Regions from separate parts of the Homo sapiens genome. Here region 2 is linked to region 1. Evidence: promoter capture Hi-C in 16 types of primary human blood cells and fetal thymus (Javierre and others, 2016). All regions are on one chromosome and are shown on one strand. Each heading gives the region's core, a stretch centred on a gene start or on the middle of the fragment in contact. The rest is flanking DNA. Distances are from core to core; before and after follow the strand shown. Region 1 holds the start of HDX (highly divergent homeobox). Region 2 overlaps HDX (highly divergent homeobox).

Region 1 (7,145 bases), core at 3,038-5,537:
AGAAGTGAATAAAAAAGCCTCAATAACCTACAAACAAAGCATAGAGACTCTGATTAATGAAAATCAGCTCTACTAGAAAAATTAATGTAACTTTAAGTAGATTGAAAGTTAGTTTTTTAAACCTAGCAATCCAATGGTTAGAGCTGTGTTCTGGGCTCATTTAGGCAGGTCTCACATATATCAATAAATGATTGTGTTGGTTAAAATGAACTTAAGAATAAATTCCTTATTAATTGGAAAATTAAGAAAAAAATTAAGTTGGGAGAACTTTCTTTGGTGTATGCAGTTTTATGTTCACCCAAAATGCACTGTGAACATGTTTTTTTCCCCCAATGAAGAATGGGAGAGCAGTAAATTGGTTATCTTTTATTAGTGGTACCCCAACCTAGATTCAGCTCCACCAGACTAAACCAAATCTTAAAATACCAAACTCACTTTTTTCTTTAAGGCATTTTCCTGACTAACTTCCTTCTGACATAATCCAAAAATCGGTAAATTTTGTGTTGAAATCAACTTTAGCAGTCACTCAATATAGATAATCCTTCAACGTTGCTGACTGATGGTCACTGAAACATTCCCAGTGATTGAGGCCTTTTGACTTTACAAAACAGTCTCTATCATTTTTGAACACTTGAATTTTAAGCTGAGACTTTTTTTTCCCATCAGTTATCCATTTTGGCCTTGGTAGTGCCCTCTGGAAAACCACAACATAAGTCACATTTGTCTTTGCTCAGCAGTCTTTCAAATATTTGAAGGTAGTTATATATTCTTGAGATCTTCTCCTCTTTAAGCTAAGCATCCTCAGCTCCTGGAGACTTGCCTCAAATCATGTATTTTTTAGATGCCTCATCATCCTGGTTTTTCTTCTCTAAATGCAGCTATTTGTGAATGTTTATTTTAAAATAAGGATAATCAACAGAAGAGACCAAGTGTGGTCTGACTAGGGTAGAGACTAGTAGAACCCTTAACTCTCTTGATTCAGATAATAACTTTTTATTAATGTAGTTTAAGTATGAATTATCTTGTTTAACAGCTTTGTTATACCAGTTCATATTGAATTTACAGAATTTTTAGATGAACTTCCCAACTTAGGTGTTTATTGCCCTTCCTGTACTTATGCAACTGATTTTTGTAAACCTAGAATCAAGACTTACTGTTTATCCATGTCAAACTTCATTTTATTGCATTTGTTTGTTGAGTCTTTTGAGATCTTTGAAATCTTGGTTAATATCCATGGTTTAATTATTCTACTTAGATACTTTTTACTTACAAGTTCAATAAACATGCTTTTAATTGATATATTGTGAACAGGACAGGTACCGGTATCTTAGGCATGTATTGAAAACATCTCTCATCCCTGAATACCTATTACTGCACTACACAATCTATGCTCTCCCCTATCTATTCATTCAACAAAGACCCATTGAGTGCCTACTTAATGCTAGGTACCACTACAACTCTAGGTACTGGAGATATAACAGTAATAAGAGAGGCAACTTCCTACCCCCTTGAACTTTTCATTCTGTTGGGGAAAGGCAAAATAACTAACCAACAAAACTAATAATGTATTTTTCCATAGTGATATGAGAAAAATTAAGCACAGCAAGAAGATACAGGAGACAGATAATTGTGGTGGTGGTGGGGCAATGCTATTTTAAATTGATTGGTCCATGAAGTCCCATCTGAGAAGGTAACATTTTAGCAGACAGCCTGAATTATGTGAAGTATGCTATGTGAAGATCTGGGGAAAGAGTTTCCCAAGAAATAATAGCAAATGCAAAGTCTCTGAAGAGGAAATAGGCATTCCAGAGAGAAAACAGATAACCAAAAAGACCAGAGTAGCTACAGCATAATGAGCCAGGGCAGGAACAAATGGTGGGAAATACACCATAGAAAGGACTTGGGACTTTATTGTTAATGTAATGAGATGCATTTGGAGGGCTTTAAATCAGGTAGTGATATGGTCTGATTCAAACTTTATAAAGAATATTTTGACTGATGTTAAGAGAAACTTTTGAAGAAGGACAAGAGTGGAAGAAAATAAACGATGTAAGATGCTTTTGCAGTATTTCAAACTAGAAGTTACAGTGACTTTAGTGTAACGGTGATAGAGGAGGTACAGAGTATTCAGATTTGGGGCCTAATTTGAAGGTACAGTCTTCAAACATACTAGTGGCTTAGCTACAGAGTGAGAGGGGAAAAGAGGAAGGAAAAATTGGATTAATTTAATTGCCTCTATTTGTACTGTGATTTCATACAAGTCTTCTTGTGTCTTTGCATTATAAACCCTTCAAGGGTAGGGACTCTGATCCTTTTTCTCATATCACTTCAGTTTCAGGTAATTCATAAACGTAATTTATGAATACGTTAATCAATTATCAATAGGCTTTTTCTGAATCCTCCACTTTACCCATATAATTCCTTCTTTGAAAGTCTCATATTTCATCATTTTTAACACCCTAATCTAGGGGTGTGTCACCTAGAAGCTGGGTTAGCATTACAACTGTCTAACTGGTCTCTCTCACTCCAGCCTATCGCAATGTTACTGAAAATGCAAATTAATGACTTGAAAAATGTGCTTTCAGTCATTCATTCAATACGTACTTACTTATTTGTCTACTTTGTATTTAGAGGCTTTCTAGATTTGAGGGATATAATAATAAACAAAACAGACAAAAATCCCTGCCTTCATAGAGCTTACATTTGCAATAACTAAATATATAAAATACATTTAATAATAATAAATACTATGAAGAAAAATGAAACAGAAAAAAGGGTATAGAGAGTGTTAAGGATATCACAATTTTAAATAGGAAAACCTCTTTAAAGAGGTTGCATTTGAGCAAAGATTTCAATCAAGTGATGGAGTAAGTCATATAAAGATCAGACAGTACAACAGTACAGGGTCACTGCTGTGGACATGAGCTTGACTTGTTTGAGAAATAGAAGATTAATATATTTGTGAATTAGTGGCTGAGTGACAGGAGGTGAGGTCAGAAAGATGGCGGAGGCCAGATCATTTAGGGCTTTGAGGACATGGTAAGAAATCTGCATTTTATTGTATATGTGAAAGGAAACCATTGAACAATCTGAAGTTGAGCATAATCTGGCTTTTGTTTTAAAAAATCACCTAAACTCCTCTGTAGATAATTGACTATAGAGGATTGAGGTCACATGCTTTATGGCTTTTGGTGGCTTTTAATCAAATAAAAGTTATCTGCCTATTTTCAAAGGCTTTTATTATTAGCCAATTCCATCTACCACTAGTCCTCAGCATATGCCCTCTATTTGTCAAGCTGATTTCATCATGGGCTTCCTCACATCATATGAATTTATACGTCTCTACCTTTGCCTATCTTTCCCCTTTAAGACGGTGACTTCCATCTGCTCTTATCCACCATTCAAGAACCATCTCAAGTTTTAATTACATAAAATGCTTCCCTGACTTTTCACCTCACTGATGTCTCCAATAATTAAATAATGTAGCTCTTGTCTGTAGTTAATGACTGAGCACATGATCATGTACTTTATTTTATTGTTGTGAATATTTACTGTGTGCTAATCTTGTCTTCCAAACGATGTTGCAAGTTCTATGATAGCAGAGAATCAATGAATTCTATATCTCTCATGGCATCCAGCAAATCTGGGAAGTATATCAAGTGACTGTTAAATGATGTAACATGTGGCTTGACTTCTTTTCTGGAATGGTATAATGGTGATCACCCAAGAAGCTTCTGCCAGAATAGGAATTGAGGTTGGATGAATAAAAACCATAGTTTCTTTCCTCAGTCATCAGAGCCAACCAGTCACGTATAATAGTACACTTGCTTTTACTGTAAAATTCTAAAGGCTCGATGGACACCTTATTGATTTTAGTAAAACTGAATATTTACCTGTCAATCGAACACTGACCACAAAGGACTGTATTTCCTTATGCTATCATTTGATTTTGGCAGCATGTAACAATTTTGTTAAAACCCAATGTCAAGTTGGAAGGCCAGGCAGCACCTGCTCAAATGGCTGGCATGTAACTACTATAGTCACAGGGATGCTCGGTGTTCACAGCTATTCAGGAAGGTATAGAGAGCCCTGGCCGTAGATGTAGCTGATTTGTGTGAGGAAGAGGCAGTCCAGTTGCAGGCAGCCATCTCTCTTCCCCCCTCCCAACTCTTGGGTTCTGGGCTGAGGCCAGGGACTGTCCTGAGCTGATCGCAGGCTCCCATTGGCCGCTGTCTTTTGTGACGTCACGATCATGATGAGAATTGATGATCGGACACGCTGATTTCATTGTCTGAAGCGGCACTGGAGACCCAGGAAAAATCTCGCTGAATCCGCCTGCCCCAGCAGCGGCCTGATCTGGGTTCCGCTGATTCCTTTCGTAACCGCACCACACCCGAGGTAAGCACTCAACACTAAGTGGGTGAGAAGGGCGAAGGAGGGAGGGCAAAGCACCGGGATAATGCTTTTCCTAGTTTGGGGCGAGGTTGGGGGTGGGGGGGTCCATAGGTTCCGTGGCCTAAACAGGCAGACAAAAAACTGGTGCGGATCCTAGGGAGCCAAGTGCCTCTATCCTCCTAGCGAAGGCTGGCGGCTGAGTGAGATTAGAAACGAGCTGCGGATAGGGATACAATGGGGATTGCCAGAGAGCGAAGGACCTTGCTCGGAGAGAGAGCGATGTTTGGGACGCGCTTCTGGACGGGTAGTAGGAGGAAGTGGCGCCTCTGCCTCCGAAGAAAGGAGGGGATTGAATTCTACCACTTCTAGATTTCACTGGACAGTAGATTTCTCACAGCCCTACTCAAAGGCACTGAGAGCGTAGCGCCTGCGCATTAGCACCTTGGTGGGGGCGGGGTGGGTCACTGTGAGGAGAATAGGCGTGGAGTTTGCACAGGCGCTGTTTCGGTTTCACTGGAAGAGGTGGGGCTGAGCCATTTCTGTGCTGAATTTGGAAAGTAGAGACCCAGGGAACATCCCAGGCCTTGTGATGTTTCAAGCACCAGTTGATGGGGAGAGATCTGCCATTTAGTTTAAACTGGCCTACTGAGTAAATCCAGCTTCAAAATGAGCCTTATAAATTTGAGAAGGCACATTCTAAATTTCCAGATATTAGATGTTGAATAACGGAATGAACTCTAGAAGAATTTGTGAAATAGAAGTTTATCAGATAAGAAACTGTTTGGAAAAATAAACACTAATTATTCAAATGAATCTAACTTTTAATCTTAAAGGAGCTCTGATTTGAGGTGACAATGATTTTGAACCTTAAATTCTTTGGAAAGACTCAGAATGAAGTCCATTGTGGAGGCTCAGAGTAAGAAATTTTCCTTTCTTGCCTTTTTCTCTTCTTGGGACAATCTCTTATAAATATTTAGTCTCCATATCAAGTTTGGTGCTGAGTCCATCTTCTTCCTCTGTGTCTCTGCTAGAATCACTGAAGTCAAATATTATTTTGAGAAGCCCTTTCCCGCACCCCTTCATTGGGAAGGCTGTTATATTACTTATATTAAGGCTTTTATTACTCAGCAGTTGTGGGGAACAATGAAGAACAACCTGCCTGTCTATTATTGATGAATAGATTGTACAGTATTGTTATTAATTGCCCTCCACAGTCTGATCATAGACTCCTGACAATTTTACAGAGGAATCTGGATTTTTCTCTATTTCTCATAGTTAAGGGATTATCAAGTACTGGTAAATTTTCCTTTGAAAGCCTTCTCACACGTTCCTCCTTTACAATCTAAATTCTCATCAGCACCCATGTAGTCACTGTAGGAGCTTCCTAGGCAGTCTTCACCTGTGCCCCAAATCCTTAGTGGTCTGTGAACACTTCTTTCAACAAATCACTTTCTTTAACCAACATATTCTTGGCCCCTTATTTTCTATTGTTTCAAGCCTAATTCCACCCGAATTTTAAAGAACTTCATAATCTGGCCTCATTGTAATGCAGGAGCCTTATTTTCCTTTATTCTTCAGGGCACAACTCTCTTTAATGTTCAGTTAGTGAGAACAATCTACCTTTATATCTTTGCTCCTTATACCATTACTGTCCCCTCCACGTAGGATGTCCTCCTTCTACATAATTCACATCTTACCCACTTTGGAAACTCAACTCAAATTCCACCCCTCCACAAGTGCCTTCCAAATTAATCTAATGCAAGTGTTACTGACCTCACTTTTCCTAGAATTCCCACGTCAATTATTGTCTTTGTTAGTTGCTTGTAGGCTGCTTTGTATTGTCTCCTTTGTTATTGTTGTTGTTGTTGTTGTTGTGTGTGTGTGTGTGTGTGTGTGTGTTAGACTGGAATCCTCAAATGGATTTTAAACCCTTCCTTAAGGGTTGGGACCATGACATCCATTTCTTTATTATCTGCCCATAGCACCTAACTGAATAATCAAAATAGCTGTAGCTATATATGTTCTTTTTTTTTCCCCTAGAAAACAATTTCCTGGGAAATGAAGCAGTATTTTTATAGAGAGAACTGTATACATGTGAAAGCTTATTCATCGTTGGTCAGGCAAGAGACCCTCCAATGACTAAATAAACCTGAATTTAAGTCAGAGGAAAGAAATTACACAGATCTCTATTTACTGGGTGGCCTTCAAATATATCATGTCCTCATAAACAAGATCAAGGGAGGGAACACTATCCCAGAAGAGGTTCTGTCTGTAATCTTCTCAGTTTGAAAAATACTAAATAAAGAGGTATTCCACTGTTCTATACTTCTCTTTGGTGACATTGTATCATGTATCTTTAAAAATACACAAATTACTCACTTTTTATTACATTTTATCTACAATTGCTATCTTATATTGATTATTCCTGATAGTTTTCATGTGTACATCTCTTGAATCAGAGATGACCTTTGTGATGGTTGTTACAATTGCTATTATATATTGGTTGTCACTTTCCTATCCTTCAGGCTTCAAATTGCATTCTTCTGCAGAGCTCGTTTTACTTGAATGACAGTGTGATTATGGTTTCATACAGAGGTTTTTCACATATTTCACTTTGGCTCCTGCCTCACTTTGAGGTACCATCCCAATATCACATAAAAGTTTTTGACTTAGAAACATAGATTAAAAGCAGTCTGAAGGGTGTTTTAACCTGTAAATTAGAACATCATTATTGTAGATAATTGTAAGTG
Region 2 (6,527 bases), core at 864-3,363, 130 kb after region 1:
CTTTGGAAAATACCTATGTGTTTTGTTGTTTTGTTTTAATCTATTCTGAAAACATCAGCTTTTATGAATTAACCCACAAGTTATTAAAAATGACATATTTTAATGCAAATAAAATATTTCTATATTTAGACAATTTAATCACATGGATTATCTTAACACTATCAGTTTAAAACTATGAGTATTTTATATACATTTTCAAAGTAATTATAATTTCTTAGCACCTGAGGAGATTTAGGGGTAGAGATGGAGATGGCAGGATAATTTTCTGCTATATAAACATTTTATTAATTTAAACTGCCTTGTCTCTCACCTACTGTAAATCAAGTTCTGAATTTTTGTGATAATAATTGTTCTGTAGACATTGCAGAAGCTTTCCCATTCACAGATAAGAACACAGCTAAGTCATATCTATGATAAACCTTTGGGAGTTTACATTTTACAAGAACAATTCTCGCTTTTAGTTATTTGTTGTGCTTTAGATCTGTAAGATTAAAATATTTTTTAAAACTGTAAGAACAAAAAAGAACTTACACAATGCAATGAGATTAAATGAAAAAAATTAAAATGCAAAACTCTAGCAGGTTTCAAACTTATATTACAGAATCCTTGGTCAAACATCAGTTTTAGTGAAAGCAAATGTAAACTTGCTGTGTGCTTATGTACCACATGCCTAGTAGATACTCAATAATGTGAAGTGGCCAGCTGACAAAATGATCCTGTATAGTGAAAGGTTTACCACTGATTTTTCTTTTTAATTAAGGCTATGCAAAAAGTTATTTTAATCATGTCTTAAAGTTGCATATAAAATATATATATGGGTAACCTGATGACTGTACATGATGCCAAAAAAATACTTAATATTTTAAAATGTAACAGCACTTTCTGATGTTGGCTTAAGATTGTGAGAGCTATGCAAGGAAAATTATGCAAGTTTTCCTTAGTGCTGAACTACCTAGTTTATTACTATGACTACCCTCTTTTTCTATAATTCTTTGACTCCCACTTCTTTCTGTCTCAACAGCTGCTGTTCTGTCTTATTATATCTGGCCATTCGAAGACATCTACAGATTTATTTTATTGTATCAACAATAGAATTCTTTCAAATTACATTTTCTTGTAAATTTCCTATTTTGATTTATTTTTTAACCAAACTCTCCACAATTTTCTCATCACTAAACAATGGAGACATATAACTGGTGCCTAATCACTGTAGGAAGTTAACAGTAGATATGGTGAAAGTGGGCAGCCAACCAGATGCCATATTGCAGGAGCTTGCCGCAGATTGCTGTTCAATTCTAGAACTTCGCAGCAGGGTACTAGGCCCCCACATTTAATTTCATTAACGAATAATTCTCCTCAGAGAGCACATAAAAATAGGCAATAAGCATCAAATGTGAACCTGAGATACTTTGAATGGTGATATGATGATACCAGCAAGGCAGGAAATCAGACCTTTTCCACATGCTAGCTGTCATGTGAGTGACATCTGTGTTCCATGGGGGCTGTGACACCCTGCTTTAAATATACAGAAATGTATAATATCTAAAAGAACAAAACAATAGCCAGCACGAGATGCCCTTCACAAAGAAGCTGGAGCAAAATCCAAGCATGCTCAGCTATTGCTGCTCTTTCTAAAAAAGCAGTTTATTCTCTCAGGTACCTGTGATTCTCCTGTTAAGTTAGTCTCCCCTCATAGCACCTGTATTTTTCTTCCCATTTAGGATACAGGTGTGTGTATGTGGGGTAGGTTTCAGAAGAAGGCTCATGTTTACTAGGTTGCTATGAATATGAACCTGATTTATTTTACATGTGTTTTCTCATTTAATCTTTTTTAGCAATCCTCTGAGGTGGGTAGAATTATGCCCATTTTAACATAATGAAAATAAGCTTCAGAGAGAGATTAAGTCACTTTTTCACAACTAGGAAGAGACAGAACTGAGATTCAAATACAGGATTTTCTGGATTCCCACTGTTTTGCACTGAGGAGAAAATTTTCAGCTTCTATTTGTTACCAGTTGTAAGCCCTTACGATGTGCTCCACATAATAAAAACCTATGCTATTTCTGGCTTTAAATGTTTGTTGCTGGAGAATAGAAGTGTTGTACATATATGTTGAAATGATGGACCTTACATGTGATATTTTGTTTTGTTTTGTTTTTGACAAGTTTGCAATTATATACAGAGGCTTACCAACAATTCTTCTATTTCATATTAAAGATACTTCCTGCTAGGTTTAGAATAAAAATAACTTATTCAATTCTGTCCAAAGAGGATTAGTTAATTTTTCAAGGGAATTCCTTAAGAAGTGTAGCTATCTTCATTCAATGCTTTTAAGCTTAGCTATGATAATAGGGGGTCTTGTTCCACTTCTGCTTATCAGTAGAAATTTTCTATTTGTATGACATTTCCCTAGCAGAGCATTGTGATTGACACTGCTTGTAAGACAAGTAAAATGTTAGCCGAGCAATGTCAGTTGAAACTCTAGAATTCACTGTTGATCTTTTTAAAATAAATAAACTGACAATGACAGCACTTTCTCACATATGGTATATTTGGAAAGGAGTGGGTCAGGGATTTGGATGCCAGAACTCCAGAGACTGAAAGCCAAAAGGTAACTCTTGCCCAGACCCCTATTCTGTAAGATTGAACGAAGTTCTTTTCAAGAATAAATTTCAAGTAGTTTTGTGATGGTAAGTGGTTTATATTAGGCAGCGATCTCCAGAGAAACAGAACTCATAGATTGGATGGAGATAAAGAATTGTCTCCCACTATTGTGAAAGCAGAGGTCTCACAATCCTCAGTCTGCAAGCTGGGGACCAAGGAAAGATGATATGTAGTATTGGTCTCAGTCCAAAGGCCTGCGAACGAGGAAAGCCAAGTCCAGTAAATTCCAGTCCCAAATCCAGCAGCTTCAAGATCCAAGAAGAACCGATGCTTCAGTCTGAGTCCAAAGGATAGAAAACACGAGTGTCCCACCTCAACAATCAGGCAAGAGGAATTCTTTCATACTCAGGCTTTTTGTTCAGTTCCAGTCTTCAATTAAATAGATGAGGCCCATTCACATTAGGAAGGGCAATCTACTTAACTCAGTCTACTGATTTATATGTTAATCTAATTCAGAAACATCTTCACAACACACCCAGAATAATGTTTGACCAAATGCTTGGGCACCCCTTAGCCCAGTCAAATTGACACATTAAATTAACTACCACAAAGATACATTTCAGAAAGTCAAGGATCAGAAACTATTAGAATGTAAAAGATAACTTTCTTATTGAAGGATGTTAATATCAGGAATATATTTTTACAACTCCTACAACTCAATACCAAAAACAAATAACCCATTTAAACAATGGGCAAAGGACTTGAATGGGAACTTCTCCAAAAAAGATGTACAAGTAGCCAACAAGCGTATAGAAAGATGCTCAACATCACTAATCAACAGGGAAATGCAAATCAAAGACTCAATGAGATTTCACCTCACACCAATTAGGATATCTACTGTAAAAACACACAGAGGTGCAAAAACACGCACACATGTTCAGAAAATGGCAAGGGTTAGTGAGGAGATAGAGAAATTAAAACCTCTATGCACTGTTAGTGGGAATGTGAGATGGTATATCTGCTGGGGAAAACAGTATGGAGGTTTCTCAAAAAATGAAAAATAGAATTACCCTATGATCCAACAATTCCACTTCTGGGTATATATTCCAAGGAATTAAAAACAGGGTTTTGAAAAGATATTTGTATGCCTATATGCATACCATTATTCACAACAGCCAAAACATGGAAACAATCTAAATATCCATCAATGAATGAATGTATGAACAAAAATTTGGTACATGCATACAATGAAATATTATTCATTCTTACAAAGGAAGGAAATTCTGACACATGCTGTGACATAGATAAACTTTGAGGACATTATGCTAAGTGAAATTAGCCAGTTACATAAACACAAATATTTCATTATTTTATTTATATGAGCTATCTAGAGTAGTTAAGCTAAGGAAGGTTTAATAGAATGGTCATTGCGTGGGGTTTGGGGAGGGGAAATGGGTAGTTTATTGCAAGGGTTCCCACTCCATGAGCCATGGACTGGTACGAGTCCACACAGCAGGAGGTGAGCAGCAGGCAAATGAGCATTAATGCCTGAGCTCTGCCTCCTGACAGATCAGTGGCGGCACTCAATTATCATAGGAGCAGGAACCCTATTGTGAACTGTGCATGCAAGGGGTCTAGGTTGTGCACTCCTTATGAGAATCTAATTAATGCCTGCTGATGTGAGGTAAAACAGTTTCATCCTGAAACCCTCCTCCCCGGTAACCCCACCCTCATCCGTGGAAAAAATTGTCTTCCATGAAACTGGTCCCTGGTGCCAAAAATGTTGGGGACTGCTGGTTTAATGGATATGAAAAAGTTCTAGAGATGGGTGGCACAACAGTGTAACTATACTTAACACTACTGAACTGTAGATTGAAAAGGGTTTATAATGGCAAATGTTACGTTGAAAAGCATTTATAATGGCAAATGTTATGTATATTTTACCACAATTTGAAAAATACATCAGTCAAATTAATTTTTTCCCAGAAAAAGTCACATAAGAGGCTTACTTTTGAGAACCTGATATTGCACCTCATATAGTTAACAAGCCATTTTCACTGGAGATAGAAACTGTGTTAATAAATAAATTGAATGAAACAATATATGGAGCATAAAATTTTGTAAAAGTCACATACACAATTTAAAGTTGTAAAAGTTTGCTAATAATAAAAATGTATGCAATGTGATTAAAATATCATTGTGTAAAAAAGACAACACTTTAACACATGTTTAGTACAGTTCCGGTAACTAGGAGTATAGAAATTTTAAAAATAAAGAAGAAAGAAAACCATGATTCTTTAAATGAGCATTTAACATAAAAATAAATGCATATGTTCAATAAGCATATAAAATGATTAATCCTCCTTATGCTTCAAGAAAACAAAATAAGAAGCTATGTTTTCACTAAATTGGCAGAAATTACACAGTAGAATAAAACCCAATATTTAAAAAGATAGAGGAAAAAAGGGACCATCATGCATTTCTGCCTTCATTCAAAGGCAGCTTAACAATATTTATTTAATGTTTAAATTATACTTTAAGTTCTGGGATACATGTGCAGAACGTGCAGATTTGTTACATAGGTATACACATGCCATGGTGGTTTGCTGCACCCATCAACCCGTCATCTACATTAGGTATTTTTCCTAATGCTATCCCTCCCTTACCCCCACACCCCAACAGGCCTCAGTGGTGTGATGTTCCCTTCCCTGTGTCCATGTGTTCTCATTGTTCAACTCCCATTTATGAGTGAGAACATGCGGTGTTTGGTTTTCTGTTCCTGCGTTAGTTTGCAGAGAATGATGGTTTCCAGCTTCATCCATGCTCCTGCAAAGGACATGAACTCATCCTTTTTTATGGCTGCCTTGTATTCCATGGTATATATGTGCCACATTTTCTTAATCCAGTCTATCCTTGATGGACATTTGGGTTGGTTGCAAGTCTTTGCTACTGTGAACAGTGCTGCAGTAAACACAAGTGTGCATGTGTCTTTACAGTAGAATGATTTAAAATTCTTTGGGTATATACCCAGTAATGGGATTGCTGGGTCAAATGGTATTTCTGGTTCTAGATCCTTGAGTAATTGCCACACTGTCTTCCACAATGGTTGAACTAATTTACACTCCCACCACCAGTGTAAAAGCGTTCCTATTTCTTCACATCCTCTCCAGCATCTGCTGTTTCCTGAATTTTTAATGATTGCCATTCTAACTGGTGTGAGATGGTATCTTATTGTGGTTTTGATTTGCATTTCTCTAATGACCAGTGATGATGAGCTTTTTTTAAATATGTTTGTTGGCCTCATAAATGTCTTTCTTTGAGAAGTGTTTATTTATATCCTTCACCCACTTTTTGATGGAGTTGTTTGATTTTTTCTTGTAAATTTGTTGAAGTTCTTTGTAGATTCTGGATATTAGCCCTTTGTCAGCTGGGCAGATTGCAAAAATGTTCTCCCATTCTGTAGGTTGCCTGTTCACTCTGAGGATAGTTTCTTTTGCTGTGCAGAAGCTCTTTAGTTTAATTAGATCCCATTTGTCAATTTTGGCTTTTGTTTCCATTGCTTTTGGTGTTTTAGTCATGAAGTCTTTGCCCATGCCTATGTCCTGAATGGTATTGCCTAGGTTTTCTTCTGTAGTTTTTATGGTTTCAGGTCTTACATTTAAGTCTTTAATCCATCTTGAGTTAATTTCTGTATAAGGTGTAAGGAAGGGATCCAGTTTCAGTTTTCTGCATATGGCTAGCAAGTTTTCCCAACACCATTTATTAAATAGGGTGTTGCTTGTTTAATGGGGTTGCTCCCCATTGCTTGTTTTTGTCAAGTTTGTCAAAGATCAGTTGGTTGTAGATGTGTGGTGTTATTTCTGAGGCCCCTGTTCTGTTCCATTGGTCTATTTGTCTGTTTTGGTACCAGTACCATGCTGTTT

What was found. The method cuts DNA at HindIII sites, captures the fragments that hold promoters and counts their contacts. A CHiCAGO score of 5 or more calls a contact.
Region 2: a contact is called between a fragment that was not itself captured here and the fragment with the promoter of HDX in region 1, in 1 of 17 cell types (monocytes). The highest score is 8.8, in monocytes.

Annotation. Positions count from the first base shown.
Region 1 is chrX:84,499,595-84,506,739 of GRCh38, reverse strand. It overlaps HDX (highly divergent homeobox), which reads left to right and starts at 4,287. Exons shown (of 11, transcript NM_001177479.2): 1 at 4,287-4,398. RefSeq lists a silencer at 4,114-4,263. The HindIII fragment of the contact is 2,765 bases long and covers 3,734-6,498 here.
Region 2 is chrX:84,366,605-84,373,131 of GRCh38, reverse strand. All of the region lies in intron 5 of HDX (highly divergent homeobox), which reads left to right. Among named protein-coding and RNA genes, the nearest start is that of HDX, 130 kb to the left of the region's middle. The HindIII fragment of the contact is 448 bases long and covers 1,890-2,337 here.